Regions from separate parts of the Homo sapiens genome. Here region 1 is linked to region 2. Evidence: promoter capture Hi-C in 16 types of primary human blood cells and fetal thymus (Javierre and others, 2016). All regions are on one chromosome and are shown on one strand. The core of a region is centred on a gene start or on the middle of the fragment in contact, and the rest is flanking DNA. Distances in the headings are between cores, read along the strand shown.

What was found. The method cuts DNA at HindIII sites, captures the fragments that hold promoters and counts their contacts. A CHiCAGO score of 5 or more calls a contact.
Region 1: a contact is called between a fragment that was not itself captured here and the fragment with the promoter of EVX1 in region 2, in 2 of 17 cell types (naive B cells and total B cells). The highest score is 13.2, in naive B cells.

Annotation. Positions count from the first base shown.
Region 1 is chr7:25,827,121-25,834,030 of GRCh38, reverse strand. LOC100506236 (a long non-coding RNA gene) reads left to right here and starts at 947. Exons shown (of 3, transcript XR_108752.5): 1 at 947-1,121; 2 at 2,082-2,265; 3 at 2,472-2,740. RefSeq lists an enhancer at 3,359-3,931. The HindIII fragment of the contact is 4,145 bases long and covers 660-4,804 here.
Region 2 is chr7:27,238,699-27,245,096 of GRCh38, reverse strand. EVX1 (even-skipped homeobox 1) reads right to left here and starts at 2,295. Exons shown (of 3, transcript NM_001989.5): 1 at 1,640-2,295; 2 at 1-49. The coding sequence starts at 2,066. It overlaps EVX1-AS (EVX1 antisense RNA), which reads left to right. Exons shown (of 4, transcript NR_120507.1): 2 at 3,087-3,182; 3 at 3,456-3,548; 4 at 3,647-3,668. RefSeq lists an enhancer at 1,800-2,677. The HindIII fragment of the contact is 5,233 bases long and covers 1-2,644 here.

The DNA.
Region 1 (6,910 bases), core at 1,483-3,982, 1.4 Mb after region 2:
TAAAATCACGCATACAAAATTGCTAGGTCCCCTGCCTAGGGTTTGGGAAGGGGCCTGTGCAAGCGAAGGGCCCCGAGACTTAAGGTTCATGGCTTACAATGAGCCCACCTCTGCTCATTGTTGTTTTTGTGCTTTACTTAACAGAGGGCATGATTGCTACTTGCTTGTATTTGCCAGATATAGAGTTAAGGCTATTGGTTTGATTATAGAGCAACAGGAGAGCAGTGTTATCATTTAGGGTGGAAGGGTCTCAGGTTTAAAGCTTTGAGTTTAAACAGACACTTAGGGTTTTTAGGAGGCCTTTCTTGTTCTAGTGGAGCAGAAAAGCACTTGCGTGGTATGTTTTTGTGACAATAAAGTCATGAAAGAGTGTGTCTTATTGTCGAAAGTGCCATCTCTCCCATCTGAGCACCGACGGCTAAAACATGATCAAGAGGGGACACATCTTCATTCTTTAGTTAGATACAGGGCTTAGAATTGAGGTACCCTTGGGAGAAGGAACACACCAACTTAAATTTGCATTAAGTTATACATGCCTGACGCTAGATTTTCTGGGAGCAGATTTTCATATGGGGAAGCAAGATGGTATTAAGTACGTAAACACGTGTGTTTGAAGAGAAGGTACTGAAAAATGGAGATTGAAGTGCAAATGACAAGCTTCACTTTAAAAAAATTTAGATAGGGCAGTGCTGCTTTCAGAGGACTTGGTTGATGTGTCTTAGTAGAGACCTTGTTCGCGTGGGGAGTCTGTTGTTTCAGAAATGTGTTTCTGCTGCTATTTCTGCTTCCAAGAATGTCAGATAAAGGGGCCTGAACACAACTGGGGACATGTGGGAAGGGGGAGCCTCTAGTCATGGGCAGGGGTGGGGCTGTGATGTAACAGGCATTGGCTTAGACCAATGGGAATGCAGAAACAGATGGATGGGGCAGAGATCCTTGGGTATAATGACTAATTAAGCATGATCTTTAAGTAGAGGTTGCAGGAAGTTTGGGGAGTTGATTGGTAGGACTGAGTAGAAAGCAGAAGTAACACAGGAGGTGGAGGTAAAGAGAAGAGAAATTAAGAAGGAAAATCTCATCAAATGACATATTTAAAGATAAATTAATTAAATACAGAAAAGGTAAATATAATTTTGTTTTCTTCTGGCTAAGTAATATAGATACTTCACATAGCTATGGAGATGATTATTCAAAATCACCGTGAACCTCTTGGCTTCTGGAAGATAGCCAATGTGATTCCCAGAGCTTAGAGGGGCCTGTCTTAACCACCAAACTGAGTTTCCACTGACACCGATACGAAACATGTAGAAAAATATTAGCATTTCCTATTCAAACAAATACGATATAGTCTGGGGACATAAGGTTATCTAATTTTCTTCCAAAAAGATAACATTTAAGAAAGCACATAGTTTAAACAGGAAAAACACTTTGCACAATGTGACCCACTGATCCAAGCCCGGGTAGTTCTCATTGCCCGGGGAGAACAAGCAGAGCATTGTTTCAGCGATGAAAAGAAAAACATCCTCTGATTTTCCAAGTTTGTTCTGAACCAAATTTTTGGTTGAAATAGAAAGATGTATTTTTTTTCCTTTTCTTGCCACCCTTCTTTATTTTTTAACCCATTTTTTAATGAAGCTATCTAAGTGGATGTTGAAACAGTGAATGTTAAGAAAGAGTACATTTCCTATGTAAACAAACACAACCCGGCTTAGAGAGAGAGGAAAGCAGTCTTGTCAACCCGAAAGGAACCCAGCACATGGTAATTTTTGTAATTGAAGTATCCCAGGGATTCCAGGGTACATGAACAATCCATAAAACAGGAATGAGACCACACAAAAACACAACCATGGCTCCAGGCGGGCACTGTTGAAAAGAAGCAGACTTTTAGCAGTAGGAAGCAGGGAGCTTGCATCAGAGGATCTTTGTAAATGCCCCTCTAAAATTAAAGTCCTCTCTAAGCTCCTTCCAGGTAAAAATGTTGTTTACTGGGGCTGAAGGCTGTGAAACACGAGCAATATAGAGAGGAAGACAAAAAGACTGGTGAGGTCATGACCTTGAGCCTTTTTGTTTTCTTTCTCAAGGTCTTTTACATGCATCGTTGGATTGCAGTCTCAAGCCTGGGATTCCAACGGAATTAACGTCCATTGAAAACTTACTGTGCTCAAGGCACAGAACGGGGTAGTTTTATACACATTCTCCCATTTGGATTTTTCAAAGACAACATCTAATCATCCCCAGAGAAATTTCAGCTGAGAAGACAGGATGGTGAGACAGTTCCTAAGTCTTTCCTAGACACAATTGTCTTTGCAAGTCCTCTGCCACAGTCAAAGGTGCTTTCTTGCCTACCTACTGGTAAAATCCTTGACTGTCCGATTTCTCTAAATAACTATAATTGGAGCAATCAGATCATTAAAAAAAAACAGCAGGAGAGATGTTAATGTTCTAAAATACAGTTTCCATTCTAATTGCAGATGAAGTGCCCTGGGGGCCAGAGTCCAGACAAGTATTTTGGCACCTCCAAGGACTCGCAGAACACAGAGAGGAAAAGAGAGACCCTGTTATCTTTCCGCAGGGGTGGCCGTTCAAACTCTCAGAGATGGAAGTTAAGATTTCCTTTGGTATAAGTGGCAGTTTGACTGGCTGCAAGGAGAGCCTCAGTTTGTTTAATTTGGAGTAAAATTTTATGAGTTAATCTCTAGTGAGGGAAAGCAGCAGTAAACACAGAACATACTGGTCATTATTCTAAGTATTTCTACATTCTTTCTCATGCATGAAAGGAGAAAAAAAGTCACAAAAATGAGGAGGCATGGTGCTCAAACATGTGTGTGTGTGTGTGTGTGTGTGCGCGTGTGTGTGTGTGTGTGTATGATTTTGTTTTGATCAAACCATCTGGTGTGCAGCATACCCCAGGATGTGAAGGCAAACATTTACCAAGAGATTCACATGATTTCTGCTGTGTATACTCATATTTGTAGAAGACGCTTATGTTTTCAGAAAGTGGAGATAAACATAGATCTCTCTGCATTTATTAATGCAGCCCCAGTTCTTTGCAGACCAAACCGTTATTTATTTTAGTGGGCCTTAGAAACTCAGGTGTGTTAAAAAGCCAGAGAGACATGCACAATCTGGAAATGATCAGTGTCATGCCTGAGGAAAACATTACCGTGCTCCTCAAGTTTAATAATATGGGCAAAAAATTCAGGGATATTGCGATACGATGGTGTGCTGAGAAGTGGATTAAATCTCGATTAAATCACAACATAAATAATGCCTTAACTAAAAATGTTAAAGGCGAACTTGAAATGGTCTTAAAAACAAAAGAGGTAATTTACCTGATTTATTAGGGGAGAGAAAAAGTAGCTTGGTGTGTGTTCTGTGGATTTCATGTTTAATGGGATGGACTTTTAGGGAAATGGCTGGGGATCTGAGGAAGCTAAACGAAAAACCCCTATATGCTGGCTGGAGTTTTAAGAAGATAGAGGGAGGGAAAAATCACCCATCAACCAACCAACCAAACCAAACCAAGAGTCTGAGTGCCCCAGCACTGGAAGCAAGACAATTGTTTCCTAGGGGACTCCTGGCTACCAGGAGACTGCTCAATAAGGGAGCGCTTAAACTTCAAAAAGGAAAAAGCAGATTTATTAGGAGGCACACATGAGGCTTTAAGGGAATGCTCCTGGTAAGTGGGACTCCTGCTGTTCTCATTCTTGTGCCTTTGTATTGCTGAAAACCCTTCTGCAAGATCCAAATATGCCTTTGGTTTTTTTTTTTTTTTTCCACGTGTGTTGTCACTTGAACATTTTGCACCACCCATCTCTCTGAAAAGTTCAGGATGTAGGGTACTTCCTTTTGAAGGTCTCTCAATTCTTCATAAGGAACTGATCATATTCAGCTTCACTATGGGGGGGCAGTCCTGGGGTGGGCTGGGGGTGCTGGCACACATGTTCCTAGTGGGTCATGTGTCCCCGTGGGCAAAGGATAACACCTCTTGGGGCTCAGTTTCCTCATCAGTAAATAGAGAATCTGCTCTTTAAGGGCCTTGCCAGGTCTAAGATCCTGTGATTCTCAGTAGGCCAGAAAACACAACTTCTGAGCAATCAAACCTCTGAGTGACAGGATGGAATATTTTGCCAAAGGTCATGCAGCAAATGCTTGTCAGTCCTAAAGAGAACTTGAGACTGTACCTGTCTTGTGACAGCTGGACTCTGACATCTGACAAGGCAGGGGACTTTGCAGGGCAATGGCCACTCTTGTCTTGCTGACCATTGTCTGCCTAGAGCATGTGCCATGTAGTAGGCAGAAGATATTTGTGAAATCAATCAATGAAAGTTTAAATAGAGAAATAAGGGATTTCCTAGGAGCAACTCAGTTTTGAGAGTCGAGTTCTCTCAGCTGTCTGGCGGGGAACCCCATGCAAGCAGTTAGCATGAACTTGGTGTGGAGGAGGGTAGATGCCCCAGCATGCTAGAAAAAGACTTGGCAGAATGATAGTTTGAGAGATTAAAACATTTCTGTCATTGAGACTGGTGGCAGAGCCTGGACTACTGTGTCACCGATCCAGACACAAAGTGTGATAATTCTGGAGGCAGTACAAGGAAAATTGGATGATAGCTTTGACTCTGGACATTGATGAGTAAATTGACAAACCTTGAACTGTCTAGGGTTGTGCAAGAGTCACCAAGACTGATCAGACAGATGAAGAAAGTATGTTGCTTGCTTGAGACTCTTCATAAAACACAAGTCACGTGTCTTTGAATTAGCACGTTGTGACACACTAGACACACACCAACAGGAAAGGAAAGCTTTGGGAGATGATACTTATCTTTATTCTGTGCAATACAATCTGATATTTTATGTTCTATTTTGTTTTTATTTTAGTTTTTTCTTTATGAAAAATTTTAATTTTTAATTTTTATGGGTATATAATAGGTGTATACATTTATGGGGTACATGACATATTTTGCTACAGGTATAAAATGTTTAATCACATCAGGGTAAATGGGGATATTCATCATCTGAAAAATCCATCATTTGTATGTGTTATGAACATTCCAGTTGTGCTCCCTTAGTTATTCTAAAATGTACAGCAAATATTGCTGACTGTAGTCGCTCTGTTATGCTATCAAGTATTAGATCTTATTCATTATATATAACCATATTTTTGTGCCCAATAACCATCCCCATTTTCCATCTCCCCACACTACCCTTCCCAGCCTCTGGTAACTATCATTCTAGTCTCTATTTTGATGGGTTCAATTGTTTTAACTCCCCCAAAATGAGTGAGAACACATGCAAAGTTTGTCTTTCTGTGTCTGGCTTATTTCACTTAACATAATGCCCTCTAGTTCCAACCATGTTACAAGTGACAGGATCTTATTCATTTTCATGGCTGAATAGTACTCCATTGTGTATATGGACCACAGTTTTTTTATTCATTCGTCTGTTGGCAGACACTTAGGTTGCTTCCAAATCTTGGCTATTGTGAATAACATAGGAATGCAGATATCTCTTTGATATACTGATTTCCTTCTTTTTGGGTATATACCTAGCAATGGGATTGCTGGATCCTATGGTAGCTCTATTTTTAGTGTTTGAGGAACCTCCATACAGTTCTCCATAGTGGCTGTACTAATTTACATTCCCACCAACAGTGTGCGAGGGTTCCCCTTACTCCACATACTTGCCGGCATTCATTATTGCCTGTCTTTTGGATAAAAGCCATTTTAACTGGGATGAGATGATATCTCATTGTAGTTTTGATTTTCATTTCTCTCTCAGATGATCAATGATGTTGAGGATCTTTTCATATGCCTGTTTGTTATTTGTATGTCTATGTCCTATTTGGGGAAATGCCTATTTAGACCTTTTGCACATTTAAAGATCAGATTGTTAGATTTTTTTTTCCTGTAGACTTGTTTGAGCTCCTTATATATTCTGGTTACTAATCCTTTGTCAGATCGATAGTCTGCAAATATTCTCTCCCATTCTGTGGGCTGTCTCTTCACTTTGTTGATTGTTTCCTTTGTTATGCAGAAGCTTTTGAACTTCATGTGATTTCATTTGTCCATTTTTGCTTTGGTTGCCTATGCTTTGGTTGCCTACGTAGTATTACTCAAGAAATATTTGTCCAGACCAATGTCCTGGAGAGTTTCCCCAATGTTTTCTTGTAGTAGCTTTATAGTTTGAGGTCTTATAGTTAAGTATTTAATCCATTTTGATTTGATTTTTGCATATGATTTCTGCATTTAATTTTGCATATAGTTTGAGGTCTTATAGTTAAGTATTTAGTCCATTTTGATTTGATTTTTGTATATGATGAGAAATAAGGGTCTAGTTTCATTCTTCTGCATATGAATAGCCAGTGTTTCCTGGGACCATTTATTGAAGAGACTGTCCTTTTCCCAGTGTGTTTCTGGCACCTTTGTCAAAAATGAGTTTACTGTAGGTGTATAGATTTATATCTGGGTTCTCTCTTCTCTTCCCCTGGTCTATGTGTCTGTTTTAATGCCAGCACTATGCTGTTTTGGTTACTATAGTTTTGTAGTATGATTTCAAGTCAGGTAATGTGATTCCTCTGTTTTGTTCTTTTTGCTCAGTATGGCTTTGGCAATTTTGGGTCTTTTGTGATTCCATATAAATTTTAGGATTTTTTTTCTATTTCTGTGAAGAGTGTCATTGGTATTTTGATAGGGATTGCATTGACTCTGTACATTGCTTTGGATAGTATGGACATTTTAACAATATTGATTCTTCCAATGCATGACCATGGAATATCTTTCCATTTTTTGGTGTCCTCTTCAACTTCTTACATCAGTGTTTTATAGTTTTAATATAGAGATCTTTTACTTCTTTAGTTAAGTTTATTCCTAGGTATTTTATCTGTGGTTATTGTACACGTGACTTATTTTCT
Region 2 (6,398 bases), core at 1,046-3,545:
GTCTCGCTCCCTCCGTTCGGACTGCCGACCAGCGCCTCGGAGCCGGACCCTGCACAGCGAGTCCAGAGCACAGGCGTGTACAGACACAGACACACAAACGCCATTGAAGTGGGGCTGTAGGCCTAAGGTGGGAGGGTGATTTGGGAAGGGACACCCTGTCAGCCACCTCAGTAACTGTTTCTGCTAGGGTACTGCGGCCTCTGGGGAACCCAAGAAGGGAAAATAAGGGCCTGCCCTTGATTGGGTAGGTAGAGGTCTTTGGGGAGGCCTTCCCTTCCTCTAAGGCATCCTGGGTACAGGGGTTCCCAGCCGCCCTTCCCACCTGCCCTGGAGCATAGGTGAGATTTCTGCCTCCCGTTGGCAGGGCGTGCACTTCTGACAGGCACATGAGTTGAGATGCACCTTTGTGCTAGAGGGTTGTAAACTCTGGGTCAAGTGCATTGTAGTATGCTGGGCATTCAGAGAGTTTCCTTGCTCTTATGTGTGACGGGCTGCCAGAACAGGTGTGGGAATGTGTACTAGGTTCCGTGTATTGCAGGGCTGGAGTGAGAATGCATGTTGAGTATCTTATTTATTACCTTAGTATATGTGAGTGGAGTCCAGGTTGTTCTGAGGGTTATGGGAAGGAGGCTGGGTGAAATCGGTGATAAGATAGTAAGGGGTAGGTGCAGGTATTCAACAAGGCGTTGGCTGCCAAGACCAGGGGGTGGTCTTTCTCCCCCCCGCCCCCAGGCTCTTTCCACCCACTCCTACAGTTCTGTGGAGGAGTGTCTGCTGGTGGGCTCCCCTCTCCTCCCCCCCACCAACCCGCGCCCAGTTTTCTACCCCCTTCTGGGGAGGTGATTGTTGGCACAGAGGGAAACTCCCTTCCGGGCTATCCACCCCTTTCCCATTAGCCTTTGGTGGGGAGGGGTTCTCCAGTTAAACCAGCCCCCCTTTGGGCCTACCTCTGAGAAGGGTGGGGCTCCAGCCCCCTGCAGCTCCTTTTCCTTTGGGTGGAGAAGTGGGACTAGGAAGGAAAGGGGAAGGGGGGAGGACCCGATCTCTGCCTTTTCAAATGCAACCGGAGACCAAAGGCAATTAGACCATTGGGACCATTTCCGACCTGGCGCCGCGAAGCCCGGGAAGTGACAAGGTAATTTGGACCTCTGACCGACGTGCAAACTGGTCGGAGGGCTGCAGCACCCGGGCTGCCCAAGTGGGCCGCAATTTTACGGTCCTTTATGGACTCCTGGCTTCCGCGCCTCCATGCCTCTTACACCCTGCCAGCCACAAACTGCCCGGATCGGCGTTTGATCTTGCCCTCGCCTGGGGAAAGTGTCTTCCCCGAGCAATTGAAGCATTCCCCGAGCAGTTGAAACACTGGGTGCTTGGGGTGAGCTTCGAATCCCCCAAGTCCAGGACTTGCATCCGCCCCCTCAGCACCCCGCACTCAAGGCACTGCTGTCACCCTCAGTCCCGCCAATGCCAGAACACAGTAGGAGACCCCCGCCAGAACGCAGATAGCAGAGAGAGTTGCTCAGGTGGGTCCCCCCAGCCATCCTGCCCTAGGGGAAGGGAGTGTCTTCCTCCTGGCCTGCGCCGAAGTGAAGGGTGGGCGCAGTGGGAGGCCCGGGGAGCGGAGGGGCACGGTGGCTACCTTTGCTGTGCTGGTACTCGGCGTTCCCGGTGGCGCAGTCCGGGGTGCAGCTCACCTCGATTTCTTCATAGAAATCCGACTCGGTGTCCGAGCTACTGGGTTGCCCCTGTCCGGAGAGGCTGTCGACTGAGGGGGCCGGGGGTCCTGGGCCGAGCATGGCCGCCCCAGCTACCTGGGGCTCGGCGCCCGGCCCCGCCGCGCTGCCTGCGAGTCCATCTACCGGCTCCTCCTCCGGGCCTCCCCCGCCGCGCTCCCGGGTGGCCGGAGGGACGGCCCGAGGGCTCAGGCAACCACGGGGCACCATTTTCTCGGGCGGCTCCGGCAGCGGGCTGCCCACGGCTTCGGACAAATTTGAGACTCTCTTGCCAACCAGAGTGCCAAGCTGACCCCCATCCAGAAACACAACCATGTCCTTTCGGCTCTCCATCCCGGGGCTCTCCGGTGGGGGAGGGGAAAGCCCCAAGTGAGTTCCTAACCCCGGCTCCCTGGGTCTCCAGCGGCCGGACGGATCTTGGTTGCAAGAGGGAGAAAGAAAGGCCGGGTGCCTGGGAGGGCGCGGAGCTGCTGGAGCGCGGTCTGGACCGCGACCGCGGCGGTGGCGGTGGGAGCTAGGGTCACCTTGTGAAGCGAGCGCTCCTCTGTGCCGCACCGCCTCTGGGAGGAAGCCCCATTGCCCTCTTCTTTCTAAGCTGTCATCCTCCTGCTGCAATCGTCATTACAGTACCGCTGGTGACGCCACTCGGCGAGCGCAAGTGGATAAATAGAAACGTCTGCCACAGCGAAGATGAAAGGAAACCCGCAGCTAATGGCTCGGCAGTGATGCGCCAGGTGTGGGCCTCGCTCGATTGGGGAGGAGAGTGTGAAAACAGACAGAGAGACACACACACTGAGAGAGGGAGACACCCAGGCAGAGGGGATGCAAATGGAATTCCGCAGAAAGAAAAGAGAGCTTAACGCGCGCGGCGAGTTCCGCAGGGGCAGCGGGACTCGGTAATTAAATAAGCTTTTGATTTTTTCTTTTATTGTTGTTTTGACTTTTGTTTTCTTAACTTGGTGCCTTGATCTAACACCGATGAAAGAATCCATAACTGCATTTTAGAAGTGTGAAGCCCGGCTTACAAGCCTCAATTCTGTCGGCATTATTACAACTGTCTGCCCCTGGCAGCTAACCTCAAACTGGCTGAAAAGTCTTTTTACAAGCTACGGAAAAATGTATTCCCCCGCCCCAAGTTGACTGGAGAGCTTGAGGCTGGGCCATCTTTTCCTCTTTTCTCCTCCCTCTCCCTACCCACCTCTGTCTCCTTACTCCTGCGAACCAAACTTTGCTATTTTTCTTCCCTAAGGGGCAAGAAATAAATACCTTATTATTATTTTTTAATTTAAAGACCCGCCTTGGCTTCTGTAAGAGTGTGTGCTGATTTCTTTTAAATACCTCCTTCCCATCTAGATGGCCTTAAGTTTTCCACAGCCTGGCTTCATCTTGAGATGGCTATTCGTACAAGAAGTCGCTTTCCCGTTTGCCTGGACCTCGCCTGCACTCCAGGTATGTTGGGTGGGGAGAGTTTCTAAGAGTTGTCTTTTTTTTTCCCTTGCCCATATTTTAAAGTATTCGTTCAGAATCAGCGAAGTCTCCTGGAAAGAGGTTTTTCGAATGAAGAGGCGCCAGGAATGCGGCCCCTGCTGTGGCAGTACTGGAGGCCCCTACTTGGGAGAAGGCAGTAGCTTTCACCGCGCTATTTTGGGCAGGGGTTCAGCCTCCCCGAGTACAAAAAGGTTGGGGTTCATAGAGGTTTGACTCATAAGGTCCTCTCCCAAGTCCCTGCCTAGGGGCAGTGGTACCTGTCTCCAAAAGTGGATGGCGTTTGAGGTAGAAGAGAGTGAAGTCGCTGAAAATGCCCTAAAACAGCAAGTAAGTAGGGACTCTGATGAAGGGCTGGAGGTGGGGGCAGGGGTTGTGGAACTTAATATCTGGAAGCTGCCATAGGCCTCTCTTGGCTCCTCTCCCAGGGAAGAAGCTGGTATAAAACTCCTTCAAACTGACCCTTTTTGAGCTCCAAGCAAGTGTGCTGGGGCCAGGTGGGTGGGCTGAGTCTATCCCCACATTGCTGAGAGCAGGAGGTGGGCACCTTCTATGCTCAACCCCCCTTTCTCCGCCTCCTCCCGAAGAGCTTCTAGCCCTAGGCAGCCAGCTGCAAAGGGCAGCCCAGCACCTCCCTCCTTTCTGTGTCCCTAGCAAAGCCCCAGCTTTTACAGGTAAGTCCTCTTCCGTGACCTTTTTATCTGTTATCTCCTACTTTTCTCTCCTCCTTTTTCTCTTTCTGTATTCTTCTCCTTCTTTGCTTCTCTCCTCCATCTTCCTATCCATAGGGTTAAGGAAGGTAGAGGAAGTAAGGGGTCCAAAGAAAGACAAAGTTTCCTCTTCACTCCGGCTTTCCACTTCTCTTTCAGTCTAAGACGATGTTCATTAATCTTGCCTGGGGGCGGAGGCAGCGGGATCCGGAAGGTAGTGTCCACATAGATATTTCTACTCCTTGGGACTCCTGAAGCCACTATATGCTGAGCACTGCTAGCCCCAAAATCCAGGGAAATGTTTTAGAGGTGAGAGGATCAATTGGGAGTGAGGGGAGTCAAATCCTAGAACCTTTTCCTGCCTTGGAGAGCTGTCCAGGTATTCTATCTTTCTCTGTCCTCCCTACCAGCAGCCACAGCCTGAGGGAGCACCTGGCTTGCTCTCTTTCCTGTCAATGGCAAGCCCCCTGGGCATCTGTCTTAGAGCTTCCAAGGTTGCCTACTCTCTATAGGGCCCTCCAGCACTGGGCCTTTGAGGTGCCCACCCTCCTTTCCTCCTTGAGCGCTTAACCTTCTCGTGAGTAGCCTGCTGCCCCCATCTCCTGGGGGCTGGGTCCTCAGAGGGACTCCTGGCTCCCCACCCCGCCCCCAGCTCTGCATTCAATGGGAATCCTCTGTTTGATCCGCTTTTCTTCTGGGTGAGATGAAAGCCGAGTAGGAGTGAGAGATCAAGGAGTGCCACTTAGTCTGCTTCCTGGGTCGGGCCCTACGGAGCAGGGCTTACATCCCGCGGAGAGGGCTGGATGGAGCTGAGGACCGGCTTTTCAGAGGGAGGTTGCCTCCCTTGGGCTCCAGATCTGAAGCTTCAGGGACACATCCCCTCAGCCCAAAGCCTTCCCCAGCCCTCTCCCGACTTCTGCCCCGCTCTTTCAAAGCTGACTGGCCAGTCTTAGGAGCCTAGGGAACCACACCCACCCCCGCCCCTTTCCACCGGCGCATTAGGGGGAAAACGTTTTAACCAAATGTCACTTCTTCCAAAAGCATCCTTTCATCAACCTCACATTAAGAGCGGTTGGGTTTTTAAAGGAAAGAAGACAAAAAAAGAGAGGACTGGATAAGAACACTGTTTTGGTTTTTTGGGCGGTGAATGTGGGGGGAGTATTTAATAACATCGTTATCACTGTGTCGTGAAGGTTATTCGCGGCACGGCTCGAGAAGGAAGGTAAATTCCGAGAGCAAGTGAAGCCCTGCACAACCCCATTAAGCCTGGGCAATCCCATGACAGCGGAGAGGGGGTGATAGCAGCTGAGGTGGAGGCCGCTCCAGGCCCGGCGGCTTCTCATTTCTCGCGGCGGGGGACACCCATCCCCCACCTGCCACACGGCAGGCCCCCCGTCCCTTCCCCCGCTGGGGCGACGGGCTCCGGTCCAGCCGGCTCCTCTCGGATTGAAATTCTCCGGACTTCAAAAGCTCCCAGCTTGGCTTCCGCCGGGGCTGGGCTGGCCTGGCCCGGGCCGGAGGGGGGTGGGTGGGAACCCCGGGGAGGCGACGGAGATAAGATGCGCGGGTCGTTTTAAATGGAATCGGAAGCCGGGCATAGGCCCCCAGACGCGCGGGTCAGCTGGAACAGCTTCGCTCCTGAAGAAAACCGGGCTCGGAAAAGCGGCGCGTGTGGGGCCTGCCTCCGCAGTCTGCCCGCCCGGCTCGGGGGAGATGGCCCGCGGCCCCGATCACCCTCCCCAGCCTGCAGCGGGCCTTTCAACGGCGACAGGGCCCCGAGAAGGGAGAGAGCGAGGAGTCCTGAGCCGGGGGCCAGGAGCTGGCTTGTCGGCTCAGGTGTCGGTGAAAATGTGATCAGGAAAAAAATGTTTTCGCTTCTCTTTGGTTAAAAAGTAAGAACAAAGGGAGCTTCCTTCTAAACAATAAGCGTGGTCTGGCTGTCGTGAATATTAGTCTTGGGCCCTCCGTCATCTTCCAGGCCGTGGTGGGGGCGCCAGACTGCTGGGTCCTCGCGGTGGGGACAGCCGGAGGTGGGTGGTTCTGGGACCCGCTTCCCCCTTCTGCCTTGGCAGCTGCTGATGCCCTTTTGGGAACCTAGTGCCACTGCTGGGTGCACCCCTGGGGAATAAGGTCGAGTGGATCTCACACTTGCAGGTAGATGAGGGTTGACCACTCCTGTCACCTCCTTGCACTGCAGTGGAATCTGCTGAGAAAGTCGGTGGCAGCTGTGTAACTGTGGCAGGCACCGTGGAACACTTTCTCCTTCAGACAGGGGGAAACTGCGGCTTCTGGAACTCTGATTTTGAAGAGTGCCCCCTCCTCTCCACCCTCCTGGAATGGAGGGCCAGGTCCTGGGAGGCAGCTGACCCTGCTGCACTCCTGCCTGTACACCTGTCTGCCTGGGCTCCTTAAGGCCAGCCTGGTAGCTTCCTGGCCCTGTGCTAAGGATGTCTGGTCCACATCCCCATTC